Linked DNA regions of Homo sapiens: region 1 is linked to region 2. The links are contacts of gene promoters, found by promoter capture Hi-C in blood cells and fetal thymus (Javierre and others, 2016). All regions are on one chromosome and are shown on one strand. Each heading gives the region's core, a stretch centred on a gene start or on the middle of the fragment in contact. The rest is flanking DNA. Distances are from core to core; before and after follow the strand shown.

Evidence for each region. Contacts are between HindIII fragments. The CHiCAGO score rates a contact against its expected background, and 5 or more counts as called.
Region 1: a contact is called between the fragment with the promoter of HAUS5 here and the fragment with the promoter of LINC01531 in region 2, in 5 of 17 cell types (M0 macrophages, M2 macrophages, M1 macrophages and 2 more). The highest score is 10.2, in M0 macrophages.

Annotation. Positions count from the first base shown.
Region 1 is chr19:35,610,255-35,615,059 of GRCh38, reverse strand. HAUS5 (HAUS augmin like complex subunit 5) reads right to left here and starts at 2,325. Exons shown (of 19, transcript NM_015302.2): 1 at 2,168-2,325; 2 at 1,268-1,330; 3 at 1,160-1,192; 4 at 1,001-1,025; 5 at 1-18. The coding sequence starts at 2,265. HAUS5-DT (HAUS5 divergent transcript) reads left to right here and starts at 2,396. Exons shown (of 2, transcript NR_186318.1): 1 at 2,396-2,442. RefSeq lists enhancers at 2,188-2,447, 2,036-2,591. The HindIII fragment of the contact is 7,658 bases long and covers 1-4,805 here.
Region 2 is chr19:35,403,019-35,407,309 of GRCh38, reverse strand. LINC01531 (long intergenic non-protein coding RNA 1531) reads right to left here and starts at 1,703. Exons shown (of 5, transcript NR_040046.1): 1 at 1,629-1,703; 2 at 1-725. The HindIII fragment of the contact is 14,783 bases long and covers 1-4,291 here.

The DNA.
Region 1 (4,805 bases), core at 1,076-3,575, 210 kb before region 2:
CTCTAACTTCCGACGGACCTGGGAGGATCAGATTCAGGGTCAGATGGTCTGATCGGGGCTCAGCCTGGCCTGTCTTTTGGGGGTACCAGGCTCCTCAACTGGTGGCAGAGGGTTTTTGCTCAGCAGTTTCTGTGTCTGACACAGAAGCATTAGGGTATTGGCTCCCTCCCTCCTTCCTCCTAGGATTGTCTTACCCACACTTCCAGCCTGTTTCCTGTCTGTGCTGGTGACAACCACATCTTTGTCCCAGTACTGATCTCTTCCCGGAGCCCTGCACCTAGAAGTCCCAAGGCCTCCTGGAAGCCTCCCCTTAGGTGTCATATGAGCCCCTTGCACCCATTGGGTCCCACACTGGCCTCAGCATCTCTCCCATACCTGTCCCATCATCTCTTCTCACCAGCTTTGATGCCACATATCCAGGTCCCACCTCTCTGCGCCCAGCTAATTAATGCTCTTTATTTATTTTTTCTTTTTTTGAGATAGAGTCTCGCTCTATTGCCCAGGCTGGAGTGCAGTAGTGCGATCTCAGCTCACTGCAACCTCTGCCTCCCAGGTTCAAGCGATTCTCCTGCCTCAGCCTCCCAAGTAGCTAGGATTACAGGCGTGTGCCACCACGCCTGGCTAATTTTTTATTTTTATTAGAGACAGGGCTTCACCGTGTTGGCCAGGCTGGTCTCGAACTCCTGACCTCAGGTGATCCGCCTCCCAAACCACATCTTTGTCCCAGTACTGATCGCTTCCTGGAGCCCTCAGGTGATCTCATCACCTGAGATGAGGCCTCAGGTGAGCCTCCCAAAGTGCTGGGATTACAGGTGTGAGCCACTGCACCTGGCTGAGCTAATGCTGTTTCCACTGGACTTTAAGCCCTATGAGGATGGAGATCAAGGCTGTCTTGTGACCCATTGTCCCCAGCATCACCCAGCACCTGGTTGGGCTTAGAGCAGAAGATCTACAAGTCATTTTTCGGATGAAAGAGAATCTTGTAGCATATGCTTCTCACCTGTGGACTGTCCTGGTGGCCATACCTAGGAAAACGAGGCCAGAGTCAGCGGATGAGTGGGGCTTCTAGGGGGGAGGGCAATAGGTGTGATGCTGTGGTGGGGACAGGGCTAAATGGGAGTGGGGAAGACAGGAGGGGATAGCTTTAAGAAGCAGTTACCAGAGTAGGTTTCCCCGGATCTTCTTGACAGTCCTACAGTGCAGAGGCAGAAAGAGGAGTTACTATGGGCCTCACCTGTGCCCCCTCCCCTGCTCTAGCCCAGCTTACCTCTGACTGTGCACATGCTGCAAGATGTAGGCCCAGATGTCAGCCCCCTGGCCCAGACACAGCCTGTGGGGACAGTGTGTAAGCATATGCCTGGGGCAGCACACAGGGTGTGGGATCCTCATTCCTAGGGTGATGGTGGTAGGGAGTTTTTACTAGGGAGTTCTCACTTCTTGAGGAGGGAAGGCCCAAACTTTTTTTTGCCTTTTTTTTTTTTTTTTTTTTAAGAGACAGTCTCGCTCTGTCGCAGTGGTACGATCATAGCTCCTTGCAGCCTCAACCTCCTGGGCTCATGCGATCCTCCCACCTCAGCCTCCAGAGTAGCTAGGACTACAGGCAGGCACCACTACACCCGGCTAATTGGTAAAACATTTTTTTTGTAGGGACTGGATGTTTGCACTAAGTGTGGTGTTATTCTCATTCCCTGGGAAGGCGGGTGGTGGGGGAGCGCGGGAGAGGCGGGTGCTCCCTTTCTCCTGGGAGTGGGTTATCCCAGTCACATCCAGAGGTGGAGGTGGGGGATGTACTGCCAGGAAGTGCCATCTCATGACCAGACGTGGGGCATCACTCCTACAGCTTCAATCCCCGATGGGGTGGCCACGGCTAACTCCTGAGTGTCCTTCTTGGTTAGGTTAAGGGAGGGAGGGGAGGTGCTGCGGGGACAGCCTCACTCTGGAGATCCTATTTCCATAAGGAGCGAGGTCTTAGCTAACTCGTGGAGGATCCTCACCAGTGCTAGGGACCTCACTCTGGGGAGCCTCCCAGGGTAGGGAGCCCTCAGTAAGTCGGGTCACTCTCGATGGGGAATTGGGGGGAGTCGAGTCCTCAATGAGGGGTGGAGTTCTCACTCCCGGAGACTCAATCTCCAGGGTGGGGTGTCCTCACTCCAGGAGCGGTCCTCACCTGCGCAGCGTCGATTCCGGGGCCCGGGCCGCCACGGGCACCCCCATCTCTTCGACCGCCCAGCAACCCAGTTCCCGCGCTTCCTGCGCTAGCTCCATGACAGCGCCGCGGCGGCGACACCGCCTCCCTCAGCCTCTTCAAGTGTGGCGCCCGCCTCTGACGTCACGGGCGCGCCAACAGTGACGTCATCGGTTGCCGGGCAGACAGCGGGCTCGGGCGCTGCATAGTAATCTTAGCGCGGTCAGGCTGGGTCTTGCAGCGCTCACTCTTCCCAGGTAGGTCTCCTTGAGTGGAAATGAAAAGGGCGTGGAGAGACTGCAGCCCCGCCCGCCTTCCCTCGTTCTCCCGCTCACTACCAGCTAACCCGAAAGAGGCAAAACAGTCCTTGATGCTTCCATTTATTTTCTTTTTCTTCTTTTAACTAAACACTTTTATTTTAATAGAGATGGGATCTCACTTGTTGCCCAGGCTAGTCTCAGCTTCTGGGCTCTTGAACTCCTGGGCTCAAGCGATCCTCCCGCCTCGGCCTCCCAAAATGTTGGGATTACAGGCGTGAGCCACCACGCTCACCCCCTTTATTTTCTTGACAAAATGGGACTTGCGTCCTAGGAGGACTGGAACCAGGCAATGAGATCCTGGACTTACTGCTCTTTGATTTCAGAAACAGGTGTCTCATGTCTGAGTGGAGGGTAGGGGCAGAGAGCATGACCCTAACATTTCCCTGGCATGCGTTTTCCCATTCATTCGTGCTTACCATTCCATAAACTCAGGGAGCTGACCCTGTGCTGGGTGATGCTGGGGACACCATGGTGACCACAACAGCCCTGGTCCCTATTGTACGGAGCTCACAGTTGAGTGGGGAGACAGACGCACCACCAGGTAGGGGTGGTAAAAATAAGCAGCAGGGGTGGGTCAATTTGGGACACAGCAGGTGTGAGAGGTCTGCGCTAGACCAGCAGTCCCCAACCTTTTGAGCATCAGGGACTGGTTTCATGGAAGACAATTTTTCCACAGTCTGGGGGATGGAGGGTGGGAGCAGTGGATGGTTTCGGGATGAAACTGTTCCACTTCAGGTCGTGAGGCATTATATTCTCTGTCTCTCTCTCTCTTTTTTTTTTTCTTCCCTGTTTTTTTTTTTGAGGTGAAGTCTCCCTCTTTCACCCAGGCTGGAGTGCAGTGGCCCGATCTCGGCTCAGCGCAATCTTTGCCTCCGGGGTTCAAGCGATTCTACTGCCTCAGCCTCCTGAGTAGCTGGGATTACAGGCGCCCGCTACCATGCCCAGCTAATTTTTGTATTTTTAGTAGAGACGGGGTTTCACCATGTTGGCCAGGCTGGTCTTGAACTCCTGACCTTAAGTGATCAGCCCATCTCAGCCTCCCAAAGTGCTAGCATTACAGGTGTGAGCCACCATGCCCCGCCTAAGCATTAGATTCTCATAAGGAGTGCGCAATCTAGATCCTTCGTATGCACAGTTCACAATAGGGTTTGCGCTCCTGTAAGAATCTAATGCCGCTCCTGATCTGGCAGGAGGTGGAGCTCAGGCAGTGATGCTCACCCATACGCCACTCACCTCCTGCTGTGCAGCCTGGTTTCTAACAGGCCATGGACTTGTATTGGTTCACGGCTTGGGGTTTGGAGACCCCTGCCCCTGCCCTAGATGAAATACTTCTCTGATGCTGACTAACCAACCATGCTTAAAAGCAAGGCCCGAAAGGATCAAGCTATTATTTAGCTGCATTCCAGAACAAAATTCAAGAATATTTATAGAGATTAAAAAAAATCCAGCATCCAACACTGTAAAATTAACAATATCTGACATCAGTAAAAAATTATAAGGCAATGGCTGGGCGTGGTGGCTCATGCCTGTAATCCCAGCACTTCGGGCGGTTGAGGTGGGAGGAATGTTTGAGGCTAGGAATTTGAGACCCACCTGGGCACCACAGCAAAACCTTGTCTCTATTAAAAATTAAAAAAAATTAGCCAGGCGTGGTGGTGCACGCTTGTAGTCCCATCTACTTGGGGGGTTGAAACAGGAGGATCAGTTGAGCCTGGGAGGTTGAGGCTTCAGTGAGCTATGATGGCACCACTGCACTCCAGCCTGGGTGACCCTGTCTCAAAGCCAAAACAAAACCAAACCAAAATAAAATAATCATCTGTATTCATGTTTCATAATATCCTCAATGGGTTTGTGCCTTTTTGGTACAGCTGTCAAGCAGCTCAAGAAAGTCGTGGGCTTTATCCGCTTAATGTAAGTGGCCGCTCTTGACTCTGGTTCCCAGGAAGACCTTCAACCTGGCCCCAGCCAAAAAGGCTACAAGCTGGCCCCCAAGAACTCACACAGCTTTTCCCAGTTCAGATGGCCCCAGGATAGCATGCCCACCAGCTTCCAGGAATCACTGTGGTTACTGTGCCCAGGTGCCTGAACCTCACAGTGCTGTGCATGGGGAGAAGCCTCTGCTGGGTGCTGACCTACCAGACAAGGATGGGCCAATTTAGGTAAATGGGAATGAGGAAGGAATGCCCGGCCCCAGAAAACCTCCCTCGAAGTTCAGATGACCATAGGAAACTCCCTGATAATGCAACTGCTGTGACTGTCACCTGCGTCTCAGTAGCTCACTGCAGGCACCTGGTCTCACT
Region 2 (4,291 bases), core at 454-2,953:
CAAGACAGGAGGATTGCTTGAGTCAAGGAGTTCAAGACCAGCCTGGGCAACACAGTGAGAGCCTTTCTCTACAAAACGTTAAGAAATTAGCTGGGCATGGCGGTGTGCACCTGTAGTCCTCGTTACTCTGGAGGCTGAGGCAGGAGGATCACTTGAGCCCAGGGGCTTCAAGGTTACAGTGAACCATGGTGGCACCACTGCAAACCAGCCTGGGCGACAGAACAAGACCCTGTCTCAAAAAAAAAAAAGTTTAAAAATGAATAAAATAATGAGGCCTTAACCTATGACAGATAGCATATCACCTGCTGGCCCATCTGTACATCTCATTCTGCATTCGAGAACTTCAGAAGTAGAGGACCAGATGAATGGGAGTGGCCCTGCCGCCACGGGGCTGAGCTCCACCGCTTTTGTCCTGCTCCTCCTCGCCAGGCCCTGACCATCTCTCCACTGACTTGTCCTGGCCCCTTTTCCATTTCTGTGGCCTCTTCCCTCTCCTCCTTGGAGAGTAGCCTGTCCTCTGCTCCCTGCATGCTCTCCTTCCATCCCGTCTCTTCCTGGGGTTATGATCCCAGCAACCTCTTCCCTGAGCCCAGGCGAGGTCAGGTCCCTTGCCTTTTCCTGCAGGTAGATGGGTGGGTTTTCAAAGATGTCTGGTTTCAGAAGCCGGTGGCATCTTGTCTAACTGGACCACCTTTTCCTTTTCCACCAACGGCAGGCTTTTATACCTGGAAGAGTCATGTGGTCAAAAAGAGGAAAGTCAGTGGTTGAGCTCTTTCTAAAGCAGCTTGACCTTCTGGGTCTCCCACCAGATTTTGTCCCCAACAGACTTATTTCACCCAGAGTCCAATTTTTTTTTTTTTGAGGCAGAGTCTTGCTCTATCACCCAGGCTGGAGTTTAGTGGTGCGATCTCAGCTCACTGCAACCTCTGCCTCCCTAGTTCAAGTGATTCTCCTACCCCAGCCTTCCAAGTAGTGGGATTACAGGTGTGCAACACCACGCCCGACTAATTTTTGTATTTTTTGTAGACAGGGTTTCACCATGTTGGCCAGGCTAGTCTCGAACTCCGAACCTCAAGTGATCCGCCTGCCTTGCCTCCCAAAGTGCTGGGATTACAGGCGTGAGCCACTGTGCTCAGCCCAGAATCCAAATTTGAACAGTTTTTTCAGGCTTCCTCCTCCCCCTACATTCCAAGAGGTTGAATTCTGTTTCCTTCCCATGGGCAATTATCCCACACGACTACACGCACATCCATCTCTCACTTCCGCTTTTTCTTTCTTTCTTTCTTATTTTGTTGTTGTTGTTTTGAGACAGGGTCCCACTCTGTTGCCCAGGCTAGAGTTCAGTGGTGCAATCGCGGCCCACTGCAGCCTTCACCTTTCGGGCTCAAGTGATCCTCACACCTCAGCCTCCCGAGAAGCTGGGCCACAGGTGCACGCCACTGCATCTGGCTAATTTTTTGTATTTTTGGCAGAGACGGGGTTTCACCATGTTACCAAGAGTTGTCGAACTCTTGAGCTCAGGCAGTCCACCCGCTTTGGCCTCCCAAAGTGCTAGGATTACAAGTGTGAGCCACCATGCCCAGCCCCAAGTTTGTTTTTAGAAAAAAAAACCTAGCATTGTCCCTTGCCTATAACAGACACTCAAATCCTTGTGGAATGTAAGGATGGAGGTTGGATGTGCCTGTGAATACTTGCTAGCTGATGACACAAGCAAAGAATGTGTCAGAACCTGCGCCTTTTGTCTCCTGTCCTTTATCTGCATTCTGTTGCCCGGGTTACTGGTATGGGGACATCTTTGGTGCTGAGGTCTAGGTTCCAATGAGTCAAAGGGAGAATTCAAACTAAGTTGTCTGGCAGCACCCCAAGACTGTGCTGACCTCACACACAGCTGTATCACGGGAGTGGGCAGTGCATCATCTCAAATCCAACTCAACTGAGCAATGGTTCGGGCTGAGTCACACCATGTATGAATCGGGGGGCGGGGGTATGTGGCTCCTCTCCAACAAGCCACACTGTCTGCTTCCCTGTCACAAAACACATGGAGCCGTTACTCTGTGTGAGGTACTGTTCTAGGAGCTGGAGACAAGAGTGAACAGGATGAACAGAAAACAAGTAGACAAACCAACAAGGCAATTTTACAGGAAGAAAGGAAGTAGGCCAGGCAAGGTGGCTCACGTCTGTGATCTCAACGCTTTGGGAGGCCCAGGCAGGAGGACTGCTTGAGGCCAGGAGTTCAAAACCAGCCTGGTCAACATAGCGATACCCCGTCTCTACAAAAAGTGAGATAAAAAGTCAGGCATGGTGGCTCACACCTATAATCCCAGCTACTTAGGAGGCTGAGGCAGGAGGAGGATTGCTTAAGGCTGGGTGTTTGAGACCAGCCTGGGCAACATAGTGAGATCCCCTGTCTCTACAAAAAAGGATAAAAATAAAAAATTAGCCAGGCATGGTGGTGCACACCTGTAGTCCTAGATACTCAGGAGGCTGAGGCGGGAGGATCACTTGAGCCTAGGAGTTGGAAATTAAAATGAACTATGATGGCACCACTCCAATCCAGTGGTCCTGTCTGGGGGAAAAAAAAGGGAAAGAAAATAAATCGGCTAGGCGTGGTGGGGTTCATGCCTGTAACCCCAGCACTTTGGGAAGCTGAGGCGGGCACATCACTTGAGGTCAGGAGTTTGAGACCAGCCTGGCCAACATGGTGAAACTCTGTCTCTACTAAAAATACAAAAATTAGCCAGGTATGGTGGCGGGCACTGGTAATCCCAGCTACTCAGGAGACTGGGGCAGGAGAATCACCTTAACCTGGGAGGCAGAGATTGCAGTCAGCCGAGATCATGCCACTGCACTCCAGCCTGGGCGACAGAGGAAGACTCTGCCTCAAAAAAAAAAAAAAAAAAGGACCAAAAATCAAACAACAACAACAACAACAACAAAAAGCAAGCAGGGAAATTGAGAGAGAGAGAGAGAGAGATGGGCAGGGCCTGTCAGGAAAGGCCTGGGACATTTGAATGGGTGAGAAGGAGCCACTATCTGAAGAGCGTTCCAGGTAGGGGCACCAGCGGGAACTTAGCCTGAACCATGGCTCGGTTGAGTTGGACTTGAGATGTCGCACCGCCCACTCCCATGATGCAGCTGTACGTGAGGTCAACACAGCCTTGGGATGCTGCAAAACAGCTTAGTCTGAATTCTCCTTTTTTTTTTTTTTTTGAGACAGAGTCTCACTCTGTTGCCCAGGCTGGAGTGCAGAGGCGATCTCGGCTCACTGCAACCTCCATTCTCCTGGGTTCACGCCATTCTCCTGACTCAGCCTCCTGAGTAGCTGGGATTACAGGCACTCACCACCACACCTGGCTAATTTTTGTATTTTTAGTAGAGATGAGGTTTCACCATATTGGTCAGGCTGGTCTCGAACTCCTGAGCTCAGGTGATCAACCCACCTTGGCCTCCCAAAGTGTTGGAATTACAGGCGTGAGCCACTGTGCCCGGCCTGAATTCTCCCTTTGACCTCATGGAACCTAGGCCTCAGCACCAAGGATGTCTGAAGCTCTGAAGCTCTGAGGTGGGAGGAGGCTGGAGGAGGGGCCCTGGCTGCTCTGCCTGCAGCCACAGGGAGAGTGCACTGGAGCCAGCTGTAAAGTGCTGACTTTAGTTAGGAGCTGTTTGCCCTCAGCTGATGGTTACCTCATCCGTTGATCATATCGTCCTCTCCTGATCTGTGATACGTTCTGATAAGCTGCTGCAGCCAGTCAGAAACTGACAGCCCCCTTCTGGTTCCATGCCCTTGTGGTATCTTGACAACAGAAACCCACATTGAGCCACACTGTCCTTGTCAGCATCCCGCAATGACAGATAGGGTAAAGGTCAGATATGGGGCACCCAAAACAGAATGGGAAGCATTTTAAGATGAAAGGGGGCCAGATGTGGTGGCTCATGCTGGAAATCCCAGCACTTTGGGAGGCTAAAGCAGAAGGATTGCTTGAATTCAGTTGTTTGAGACCAGCCTGGGCAACATAGCGGTAGCCCATCGCTAAAAAAATTAAAAAATTAGCTGAGTGTGCTGGTGCATGCTTGTATTTGCAACTACTCAGGAAGCTGAAGTGGGAGGACTGCTTAAGCCCAGGAGTTCCAGGCTGTAGTGAGCTGCAATCACGCCATTGCACTCCAGCCTGGGCGACAGAGCCAGACTCCATTTCTTTAAAAAAAAAAAAAAAAAGCTGGGCCCAGTGGCTCATGCCAAAGTGCTGTAATCCCAGCACTTTGGGAGGCTGAGGCGGCAGGTCACTTGAGG